2 separate regions of the Homo sapiens genome follow, and region 1 is linked to region 2. The links are contacts of gene promoters, found by promoter capture Hi-C in human tissues and cell types (Jung and others, 2019). All regions are on one chromosome and are shown on one strand. The core of a region is centred on a gene start or on the middle of the fragment in contact, and the rest is flanking DNA. Distances in the headings are between cores, read along the strand shown.

Region 1 (4,538 bases), core at 1,520-4,019, 63 kb after region 2:
TAAAATCTATTTTCAGATGTAGCAACAGTAAAACAAACAAACAGAAAAAACAAACAAAAAACAAACTAAAGTCTGTTCCTTATTTCTCTCCAGAATAATTTTTACACTTTACAATACATCCATTCAGAAACTGCCAAATGGTACAAGACCTATGGATGGGAATTTATAATATCCAGCAAAATTAAATGTATATTTGTCCTCTGACCTAAAGTCCAATATTAAAGGTTTAACCTAGTAATACACTTATAAAAATGTTAACTACATATAAAGAAGTTCATTTACTGCAGCTTACTCATGGATGCTAAAATAATTAGTAGGAACGTTGCCGGGGAACAAGATATTCTGGGCGTCCTGCAAGGGATGGTGGCTCATGCTTGTAATCCCAACATTTTCTGAGATTGAGGTGGGAGGATCACTTGAGCCCAGTAGTTCAAGGCTGCAGTGAGCTAGGATCGTGACACTGCACTCCACCCTGGGCGACAAAATGAATCTCAAAAACAAAAAACAAAAAACAAAAAAACCCCGCAAATATATATATATTTTTGTATTTTGTATTTTTAGTAGAGACAGGGATTCACCATCTTGGCCAGGTTGGTAGAGAACTACTGACCTCGTGATCCACCTGCCTCAGCCTCCCAAAGTGCTGGGATTATAGGCGTGAGACACCGCACCAGGCCTGGCTTTGGTCTTTTTGACTAAACCTCTTCTGAAATGTGTTCAATAAAAAGCTGAACTTGGAAAAAAAAAAGGTGGGGGTGGGGGGGACAGGGAGGAAGGCAAGAAAAACAAAAGACAACAAAGAAGATCCTGGCCAGGTGCAGTGGCTCACGCCTGTAATCTCAGCATTTTGGGAGGCTGAGGCAGGCGGATCACGAGGTCAGGAGATCAAGACCATCCTGGCCAACATGGTGAAACCCCATCTCCACTACAAATACAAAAATTAGCTGGGCGAGGTGGCACGTGCCTGAAATCCCAGCTACTCAAAAGGCTGAGGCAGGAGAATCGCTTGAACCAGGGAGGCAGAGGTTGCAGTAAGTCGAGATCACACCACTGCACTCCACCCTGGCGACAGAACGAGACTGTGTCTCAAAAAAAAAATAGAATGAAATCCTGTCATTTTCAACAACGTAGATAGAACTGGAGGACAGTACGTTAAGTGAAATAAACCAGGCACAGAAACACAAAGTTGGGCGTGGTAAGCGGTGGTTGCAGTGAGCCAATATCATGCCACCGCACTCCAGCCTGGGCAACAAGGCAACATCCTGCCTCAAAAAAACTCTCAAAAAAAAAAAATCTTGAATAGAGCTCAGATCCAAAAACATTCCGTTATATTTTAGAAGAATTTGGAGAATTTTCATTTATTATACATAGTAAATATTAGATAACATTATTATTTTTAATTTTCTTGATGCAAATAGTATTACGGTTTTAGTAAAACAACACTCTTATCATTGAGTCAGGCATTACCCACTACTTAAATGTCGAGCTTACCATCCTGGCTATCACGGTGAAACCCCATCTCTACAAAAATACAAAAAATTATCCGGGCACGGTGGCACACCCCTGTAATTACAGCCACTTGGGAAGCTGAGGCAGGAGAATCGCTTGAACCCGGGAGGCAGAGGTTGCAGTGAGGCGAGATCGCGCCACTGCACTCCAGCCTGGGCGACACAGCTAGACCCCCTCTCAAAAAAAAAAAAAAAAAAAAAATGTCGAGCTTCATCTCTGCAATGAATTTCCCATTGACTCTCAAACTGTTCACCATAAAATTTATTTACGAGACGGCGAATACACAAAACGCTAAAAAACAGGTGCAGCTACAATGGATATTTATTCGTGGTACTGGATGGTCAACATACCCATAGGTTTAAGTTTTTTCGAAAAAAAATGCGGGAAAAATACACTTAGTACAGTCATCCTGTTAATGGTAAATTCGATTATTCTAGTATTAGTGTGTAAACCCTCCATCCTTTCTTCCAGGAAGCCTGGTTATGAAGCTCTTTGGAGACGTACAGAGCTAGGAACTTCAGATGAAAAGAATGGCTGAGTATTCTTAGGTTTCTTTAGTAGAAAGACTCGCGGTCTACAAACGTTTATATGCACATGCAGAAATACGCACACCCTAGACAACTAAGAAAGCACCTTTCTACCGGAACGTAATGTGTCAATAAAAAATATACAGGTTTCACAAAGGCAAAATGCCAAAATCTCACATGAAACACTCGTTTGCATAAAAAAGGAAGCAGCTGCCCCCTTAAACCAACTTTTTCCCAATGCTCACCCGAACACGGTGGAGTCGCCAGGTCCGTGGGGCTACAGGATCTTGGGGACGGAGTCAATCGAACGCGAACGGCAAAATTCTTTTCCCTCTGAAACACAATTCACAAACGTTGCCTTGGAGACTTATTTTTTAAGGCCTCAGAACGCTTGGACACTTTTGAAGACGGGAACACACGGCTGAAAACAGCCCTCGGACGCGCCCATACTGCACTTCCCACCCGGCTCCTCTAGGGGACCGAAGGTCCCAATGGCCTCTTCGACGTGGCCTCACCCGATGGCTCCGCGACTCCTGCGGACTCCTGTGGAGTGGTCCAGGCCTCTGTAAGGAGGTTCCTCGATTACCCTGGGTCGATTGTGACCTCTGCCACCCCCCGAAACACCGCCCAACCCACTAGTCCACACGAGCCTCACCAAAGTAGTGAACGACCAGACAACACAAAGGAAAAAGTGGCTCTGAGGAAACAGGCGCCAGCGACCAAAAGAGAGAACTGGCGCGCCGCAACGTCACTTCCGTTTGGGGCATTGGAAGGGGCGTGGCTCGTTGTGTGGGCAGTTGGACAGGATGGAACTCTTCAGGATTCTAGTTTCCCTCCGCGTGGGTGCGGAGGTATCAAGGGGTCGGCTCAGTGCCTGGGTGGGCAAGAGAGAAATGGACCCACAGAGAAAGGTGGGGGTTAAATCAGGGCTGTGGGCGGGGCCCATGCCCGGGGGCGGGGCTGGAGGTGGGACCAGACCCAGCCGGTGGCTTCGGTGGCAGAATGGACCAGGAAGGCGAAACGTCGGGCGATGGACTCGCCCCTCAGGATGCTCATTAGAAACTTTCCCCACGTTCCTGGACCCCTTTCAGGATTCTCTCCAGTTGATAACCTGCCAATCCACAAAATGGCCTGCTTCCTGCATTCGATCACGTCTTTAGAACTTTATTTTCTCTTATTTCTTTTTATTTATCTGACCTTGCTAAACTCTAATCATTGATTCCTCTGCGTTTTCAGTTATCGATACTTTCTGTAAATATTGCAATTTTTTTCTTTTCTTTCTTTTTTCTTTTCTTTTCTTTTTTTCTTCGAGGTAGGGTCTGGCTCGGTTGCCAAGGCTGGAATGCAGTGGTAGGAACACGGCTCACTGCAGTCTCCACCTCTCCAGGCTCAAGCCATCCTTCCACCTCAGCCTCCCGAGTAGCTGGGACCACGGGCGCACCGCACCCGGCTAATTTTTGTATTATTATTATTATCATCATTATTATTATTTTGTAGAGACAGGATCTAACCATGTTGCCCAGGCTGGTCTGGAACTCCTGGGCTCAAGTGATCTGCCCGCCCTGCACTCCCGAAGTGGGATTACAGGCGTGAGCCATCATGCACCATGCCTGGCCTTATTGTATTTTTTTTTCTTCTTCAACAATGTATTTGTTACTATTTCTCAAATCTTATCAAATGATTCAAAGCCTCCTGTACTACTTTATGAAATAACACTGATACCAGGCATTCTTCACTTATTCTGTGCAGAAAAAGAAAGGACTGTTGGACTTGTGGTAGAGATTTAGTTGAATCTTCGGGTTATATTGGTATCTTTATAATACTGAGTCTTCCTATGTGTGAATATACAATATCTCTCTATTTAGGTCTTCTTTAAACTCTTTCAGTAATGTTTTGAAATTTTCAGTTTACAAATATTTTACCTCTTGGGGTAAAGTTATTCCCATGTAACTTATTTGTAAAAGGGATCACATTCTCAGTTTCCTTTTCTGATTGTTCATTGCTGGTGTATAGATACAAAACTAATTTTCATCTCTTGATGTTGTACTGTGCAACTTTACGGAATTTATTACAAGCTCTGCTAGTTTTCTTGTAGATTCTTCAAAATTCTCTATATATCAAATATCACCTATAAATATATTTTTATTTGTTCTATTCTAATTGAGAAACCTTTTATTTTATTTTCTTGTGTAATTGCTCTGGCTAGAATTTCCTGTAGAGGCTGGGCACGGTGGCTCACTCCTGTAATCCCAACATTTTGGGAGGCCGAGGTGGGTGGATCACCTGAGGTCAGGAGTTCAAGACCAGCCTGACCAACATGGTGAAACCCCGTCTCTACTAAAGATACAAAAAATTAGCCAGGCGTGGTGGTTGGCACCTGTAATCCCAGCTACTCGGGAGGCTGAGGCAGGAGAATCACTTGAACCTGGGAGGCGGAGGTTACGGAGTTTGCAGTGAGTGGAGATGGCTCCATTGCACTCCAGCCTGGGTGACAAGAGCAAA
Region 2 (4,959 bases), core at 482-2,981:
CTTGTAATCCCAGCTACTAGGGTGGCTGAGGCAGGAGGATGGCTTGAAAACCCAAGAGGTGGAGGTTACAGTGTTTCAGTGAGCCGAGATCCTGCCACTGCACTGGAGCCTGGCAACAGCGAAACTCTGTCTCCCAAAAGATATCACTTACTATTTCCTGTCATACATTTAAGATTAAATTATCCCACCACATTGTTTCCCCAACCAAAGAAAGAATACTGACTCTGTCAAACCTGGGAGTAATCTTTGATGCACTCCTCTCTCTCACCATAGAAGTGGAGTCAGCCAATTCACAGAATGCTTTGCCCAGCTCTTATTTCCTTCCCCTTCAGTATGGCTAAATCATACCATATTTTTGGTCTCAGCTTGCATATCACTCTTTTCTTAGCATTGCCTATTCCAAAGAAAAATAGAGAAAATAATTCTGTCCTCTACTTTACTTACAGACCTTCATCAATTTGTAATACACTTATTTGCTTGGTTACATGACAGCCTCCTCCACTAGTTTACAACCTCCCTAAGAACAGCCCTAGGCTGAATTTTTTTACTATGCCTTAATTAACCATTCAGACACTCATCCATTTACAGGATACACCAATAAATGAAGGATACATTTAAACACGGCACAGAATACAATCAGAACTACCAAAATGTATAACTTTCTGAAAGAACGAGTGACTGCGCAAAAAGACAATATAACGGATAAACAGTGTCTGCTAGTTTTAAAGAGACTAAAAGACATGAAACTTGGATACGTAATAGATCCCAAAACAATCAAAACCATATATTGGAACAAAGTGGAGAACTGTACCTTTTTACACAGGGTACATATTAACAACATTTTAAATTTTCTGGGGTAATAGTATTATGGTTTTAAAAGGACATGTCTTTATCCACAGGACACGTATTACCAAGCATTTAAACCTTAAGTGTCACGCCTGCAATGTTCAACTTACTTCAAAGCCTCCATTCCTTCTTCCTAAAAGCCCGTTTTGAAGCTCTGTGGGGAGGTACAGGCCTAGGAAGTTCAGATAAAAAGAATAGCTGAGTATTCTTGCTTTTCTTCAGTAGAAAGACTTCTGGTCTACAAACGTTTATATTCACATAGAGAAATAACCACACCCCAGATACCTAAAAAATAGCTTTATGTTTCTACCTGAATGTAGAGTGTCAAAAGTAAATACAGGATGCGCAAAGAGAAAAACAAATTCTCAGATAAAACAGGAGGAAGAAGCCCCCGAAACCAACTTTCACCCCAGTACTCACCGCGACGAGCTGGACTCGCCAGGTACGGGAGATTGGGGGGATGAAGGACCAGTCAACCTGATTCGAACGACGAAAACTCGTTGTTTCTGGAAAAAAAAAAGTCACAAAGAATTGCTTTGGAAGAGTTTGAAGCGGCAATCACCGTGTTTGCAAAAATCGTGAGGAAGCGCCCTTACGACAGATCCCGAAACGGCTCCTGGCCCAGGGCCGTCGCAGTGACAACTCGAGTGGCTTTTTGAACCTGGCGGCGCCAGGAGGACCCGCGCGGCCCCGGCGGACGCGAGCGGAGCAGGCAAGGTCTCTCTAAGGAGGCCCCTCGGCGGCCTGGGGCAAACCGGTACTTTCGCCACCCCTTCCACCGCTGGCTCCCACCCGTCATCCGACCTCGCCAAAGCTGTATTAAGCCCAAACGCCACCAGGAAGAAAACGGGTTTGGCGGCGCGGAGAAAGCGCCGGAAAACACAGCAGCGCTCCGTGACGTCACTTCCGCCTCCAGCCTCAAACCTGGAGGAGCGCTCGGGAACTGCAACCTCAGCCGAGCTGAACAACCTCAGGCAGAGAGATTCTGGTTTACTCCCCAGTGGCTACGGAGACGCCTTGGAGGCCTTGGAGTCTGCTCACCTTGAGGGATGGAGGCCAAAAGGGGCCCAGAGCACAAGGCTGAGGTTAGAACCAGCCCTGCGGACGGGGCTAACCTAGGGTGGGGTCGGTGGTGTTGGCAAAGTTAGAGGTGGGGGCTCCCCCACAGGATGTGCACAATGCTCACAAAAAGCTTTTATTCTCACCTCCTCCCACGTTCCTAGCACCCTCAAAATGATGCTTCCTTTGATAATCCTGCCAGTCCATGATATGGCCTATCTCCTCCATTCATTCAATCTAGTTTTAGTTTTTTATTTTGTTTTTGTTTGAGACAGGGTCTCACTGTGTAGTCCAGGCTGGCGTGCTGTGGGGCGAAACTCATGGGCTCACGCCATCATCCCGCCTCAGCCTCCCGAGTAGCTGGGTCTACAGGCGCAGGCCACCATGCCCGGCTAATTTTTTTTCCCCCAGAGTTGAGGTATGTTACCCAGGCTGATCTCAAACTCCTGGGCTCCAACAATCATCCCGCCTCAGCCTCCCAAAAGGCTGGGATTACAGGCGTGCACCACGGCGCCGGGCCCAATTCAACTTGAGGCCAATATTTCCCCTTATTTCATTTATCTGGACGCCATGCTAAATTCTAATAGTTGATTCCTTTGTGTATTCAATATGCTGATACTTTTTGTAAATGTTGATTTTTTTTTCTTTGACTAATATATTGTTTTCTGAGATCTTACAGTGAGTTCCAGGGCCTCGTTGTAAAATACCGCGTTGTAAAATAGCACTGATATCAGGCATTCACTTCTGCAGGAGTGATTCTAGTTTCTCCAGAAATCGTTTTTGCTGTGCTTTGTAGTGGGTGGCCTTTATGGAGTTAATAAAGTTATTTTGAACACTGTTTTACTAACATGAAGAACTGTTCATGTACATTATCAAATATTTTGTGAATCTACTGAACTGGTAACTATTTTGCAGTTAATTTTTCAACTCAAAAAGATTTTCTTTTTTAAGTTTCCTCTCTTGCATTAAGAAGTCTTCATAAACTCTAGATTACATATAGATTTCCTAATTTTCTTCTGCAGCATATTACTTTAAAAACATTGAAATCTTTCATACTCATGGAATGTGTTTCAGTATGTGGTGTGGGATAGTGGATACAATATCTCTTTCCTCCAGAAACACGGCCAATTATTGTAGTACCACATATTGATAAACTGTCCTTGATTTACTGATTTCAAATTCCATGTTTATTAAACTATAAATTCCTATGTATACCTGTATCTGATTCTAGACTCTATGCCAGTAATACATTTACTTATGCCAATATCAAGATCATAATCTTTTCATTCCAGTGGTTTTGTATCAACTAATAATATTCCGTGGTAATAATAATAATAATGGTAGCTTTTTTGTTTGTTTGTTTTTGAGACAGTCTTGCTCTGTCACCCAGGCTGGAATACAGTGGTACGATCTCGGCTCACTGCAACCTCCACCTCCTGAGTTCTAGGGATTCTCCTTTCTCAGTCTCCTGAGTAGCTGGGATTATAGGCACGCGCCACCACGCTCAGCTAATTTTTGTATTTTTTTTTTTTTTTTTTTTTAGTAGAGATGGGGTTTCGCCATGTTGGCCAGGGTGGTCTCAAACTCCTAACCTCAGGTGATCTGCCCACCTCAGCCTCTGAAAGTGCTGGTGTGAGCCACCGCACCTGGCGGTAGCTGTTTTTTAAATCTTACTACCCTAAATGCTTAATAGACATTAAATTTTTACGCTCCCAATGATGTGGCTATTATTGTGATTTTTCCCTTTTGGTTTTTAGACCAGCTGTATTGAGATACAATTCACATATAACCAACACAGTTCACCCACTTAAAGCTATATAATTCAATATTTTTTAGTACATTCGCAGTGTTGTTCAAACATAATTTTGGAACATTTTAATCACACTAAAAGAAATCTTTGAATGGGAAAACCCATTTACCTCCTCTTTAAGCTCCAGGGAACCACAAACCTACTTTATCACTACAGATTTTTCTTTTGTAGACATTTCATATGGATATACTCATACAATTTATTTTTATTTTTGTATAGACAGGGTCTCACTATGTTGCAAGGCTGATCTCGAACTCCTGGGCTTAAGTAGTCCTGCCTCGGCCTCCAAAAGTGCTGGGATTATAGGCGTGAGCCACCATGCCCGGCCTAAAAATCATACAATCTTTTGTGAATAACTTTTTTCACTTAGCCCGTTTTTCAAGGTTCATCTGTATTATAGCCTAGATCATTCTATTTTATTGCTGAATGATATTCCATTCTATGTATATACCATATATGATTTGTCTTCAGTTGATGGACATATGGTTTGTTTCCACTTTGGGGGTGTTGTGATTAATGCTGCTATGAAAATTCACATATATCTTTTTGTGCATACTGGCTTTTATTTTTTGAGAAATCACAGCTCACTGCAGCCTCTACCTCCTAGGCTCAAGCGATCCTCCCACCTCAGCCTCCTGAGCAACTAGGACCACAGGCATAAGCCACCACACCCAGCTAATTTTTGTATTTTTTTGTAGAGACAGGGTTTTGCCCAGGCTGGTCTCAAACTCCTAAGCTCAAGCAACCTGCCCGCCTCGGCCTCCACAAAGGCATAAGCCACCACGCTCAGCTGGTTTTTATTTCTCTAGAGTATATATCTGGGAATGGAATTGCTGAGCCATACAGTAACTATCTAAGAATTTGAAGAACTGCCACACTGTTTTTGAAAGGGGCTGTACTGTTTTACATTCCCACCAGAAATGTATGAGGGCTCCAACTTCTCTACGTCCCTGCTAACACTTTAGTGTTTTTCATGTTAACTGTGTTAGTGGTGTGAGGTGATACCTCATGATTTTGACTTGTATTTCCCTAACACTAGTGATGTTCAGCATCATTTAATGTGCTTTGTTAGCCATTTGTATGCTTCTTTGGAGAAATTTCTGTTCAATTCCTTTGCCCCTTTTAAAATTTGTTTTCTGGCTGGGCACGGTGGCTTGTAATCCCAGCAATTTGGGAGGCTGAGACAGACAGATCACTTGAGGCCAGGAGTTCAAGACCAGCCTGGCCAACATCGTAAAAGATAA

The links. The method cuts DNA at HindIII sites, captures the fragments that hold promoters and counts their contacts. A contact is called where the count stands out against the background at its distance.
Region 1: the fragment with the promoter of ZNF560 here is called in contact with the fragment with the promoter of ZNF266 in region 2 in 2 of the 25 tissues and cell types used here (adrenal gland and thymus).

The regions. Positions count from the first base shown.
Region 1 is chr19:9,495,847-9,500,384 of GRCh38, forward strand. It overlaps ZNF560 (zinc finger protein 560), which reads right to left and starts at 2,770. Exons shown (of 10, transcript NM_152476.3): 1 at 2,692-2,770; 2 at 2,282-2,369. The HindIII fragment of the contact is 15,358 bases long and covers 1-4,538 here.
Region 2 is chr19:9,433,842-9,438,800 of GRCh38, forward strand. ZNF266 (zinc finger protein 266) reads right to left here and starts at 1,732. Exons shown (of 11, transcript NM_001370374.1): 1 at 1,443-1,732; 2 at 1,267-1,352; 3 at 957-1,018; 4 at 234-394. LOC105372269 (a long non-coding RNA gene) reads left to right here and starts at 1,800. Exons shown (of 3, transcript XR_007067133.1): 1 at 1,800-1,931. RefSeq lists an enhancer at 1,523-1,652. The HindIII fragment of the contact is 27,667 bases long and covers 1-4,959 here.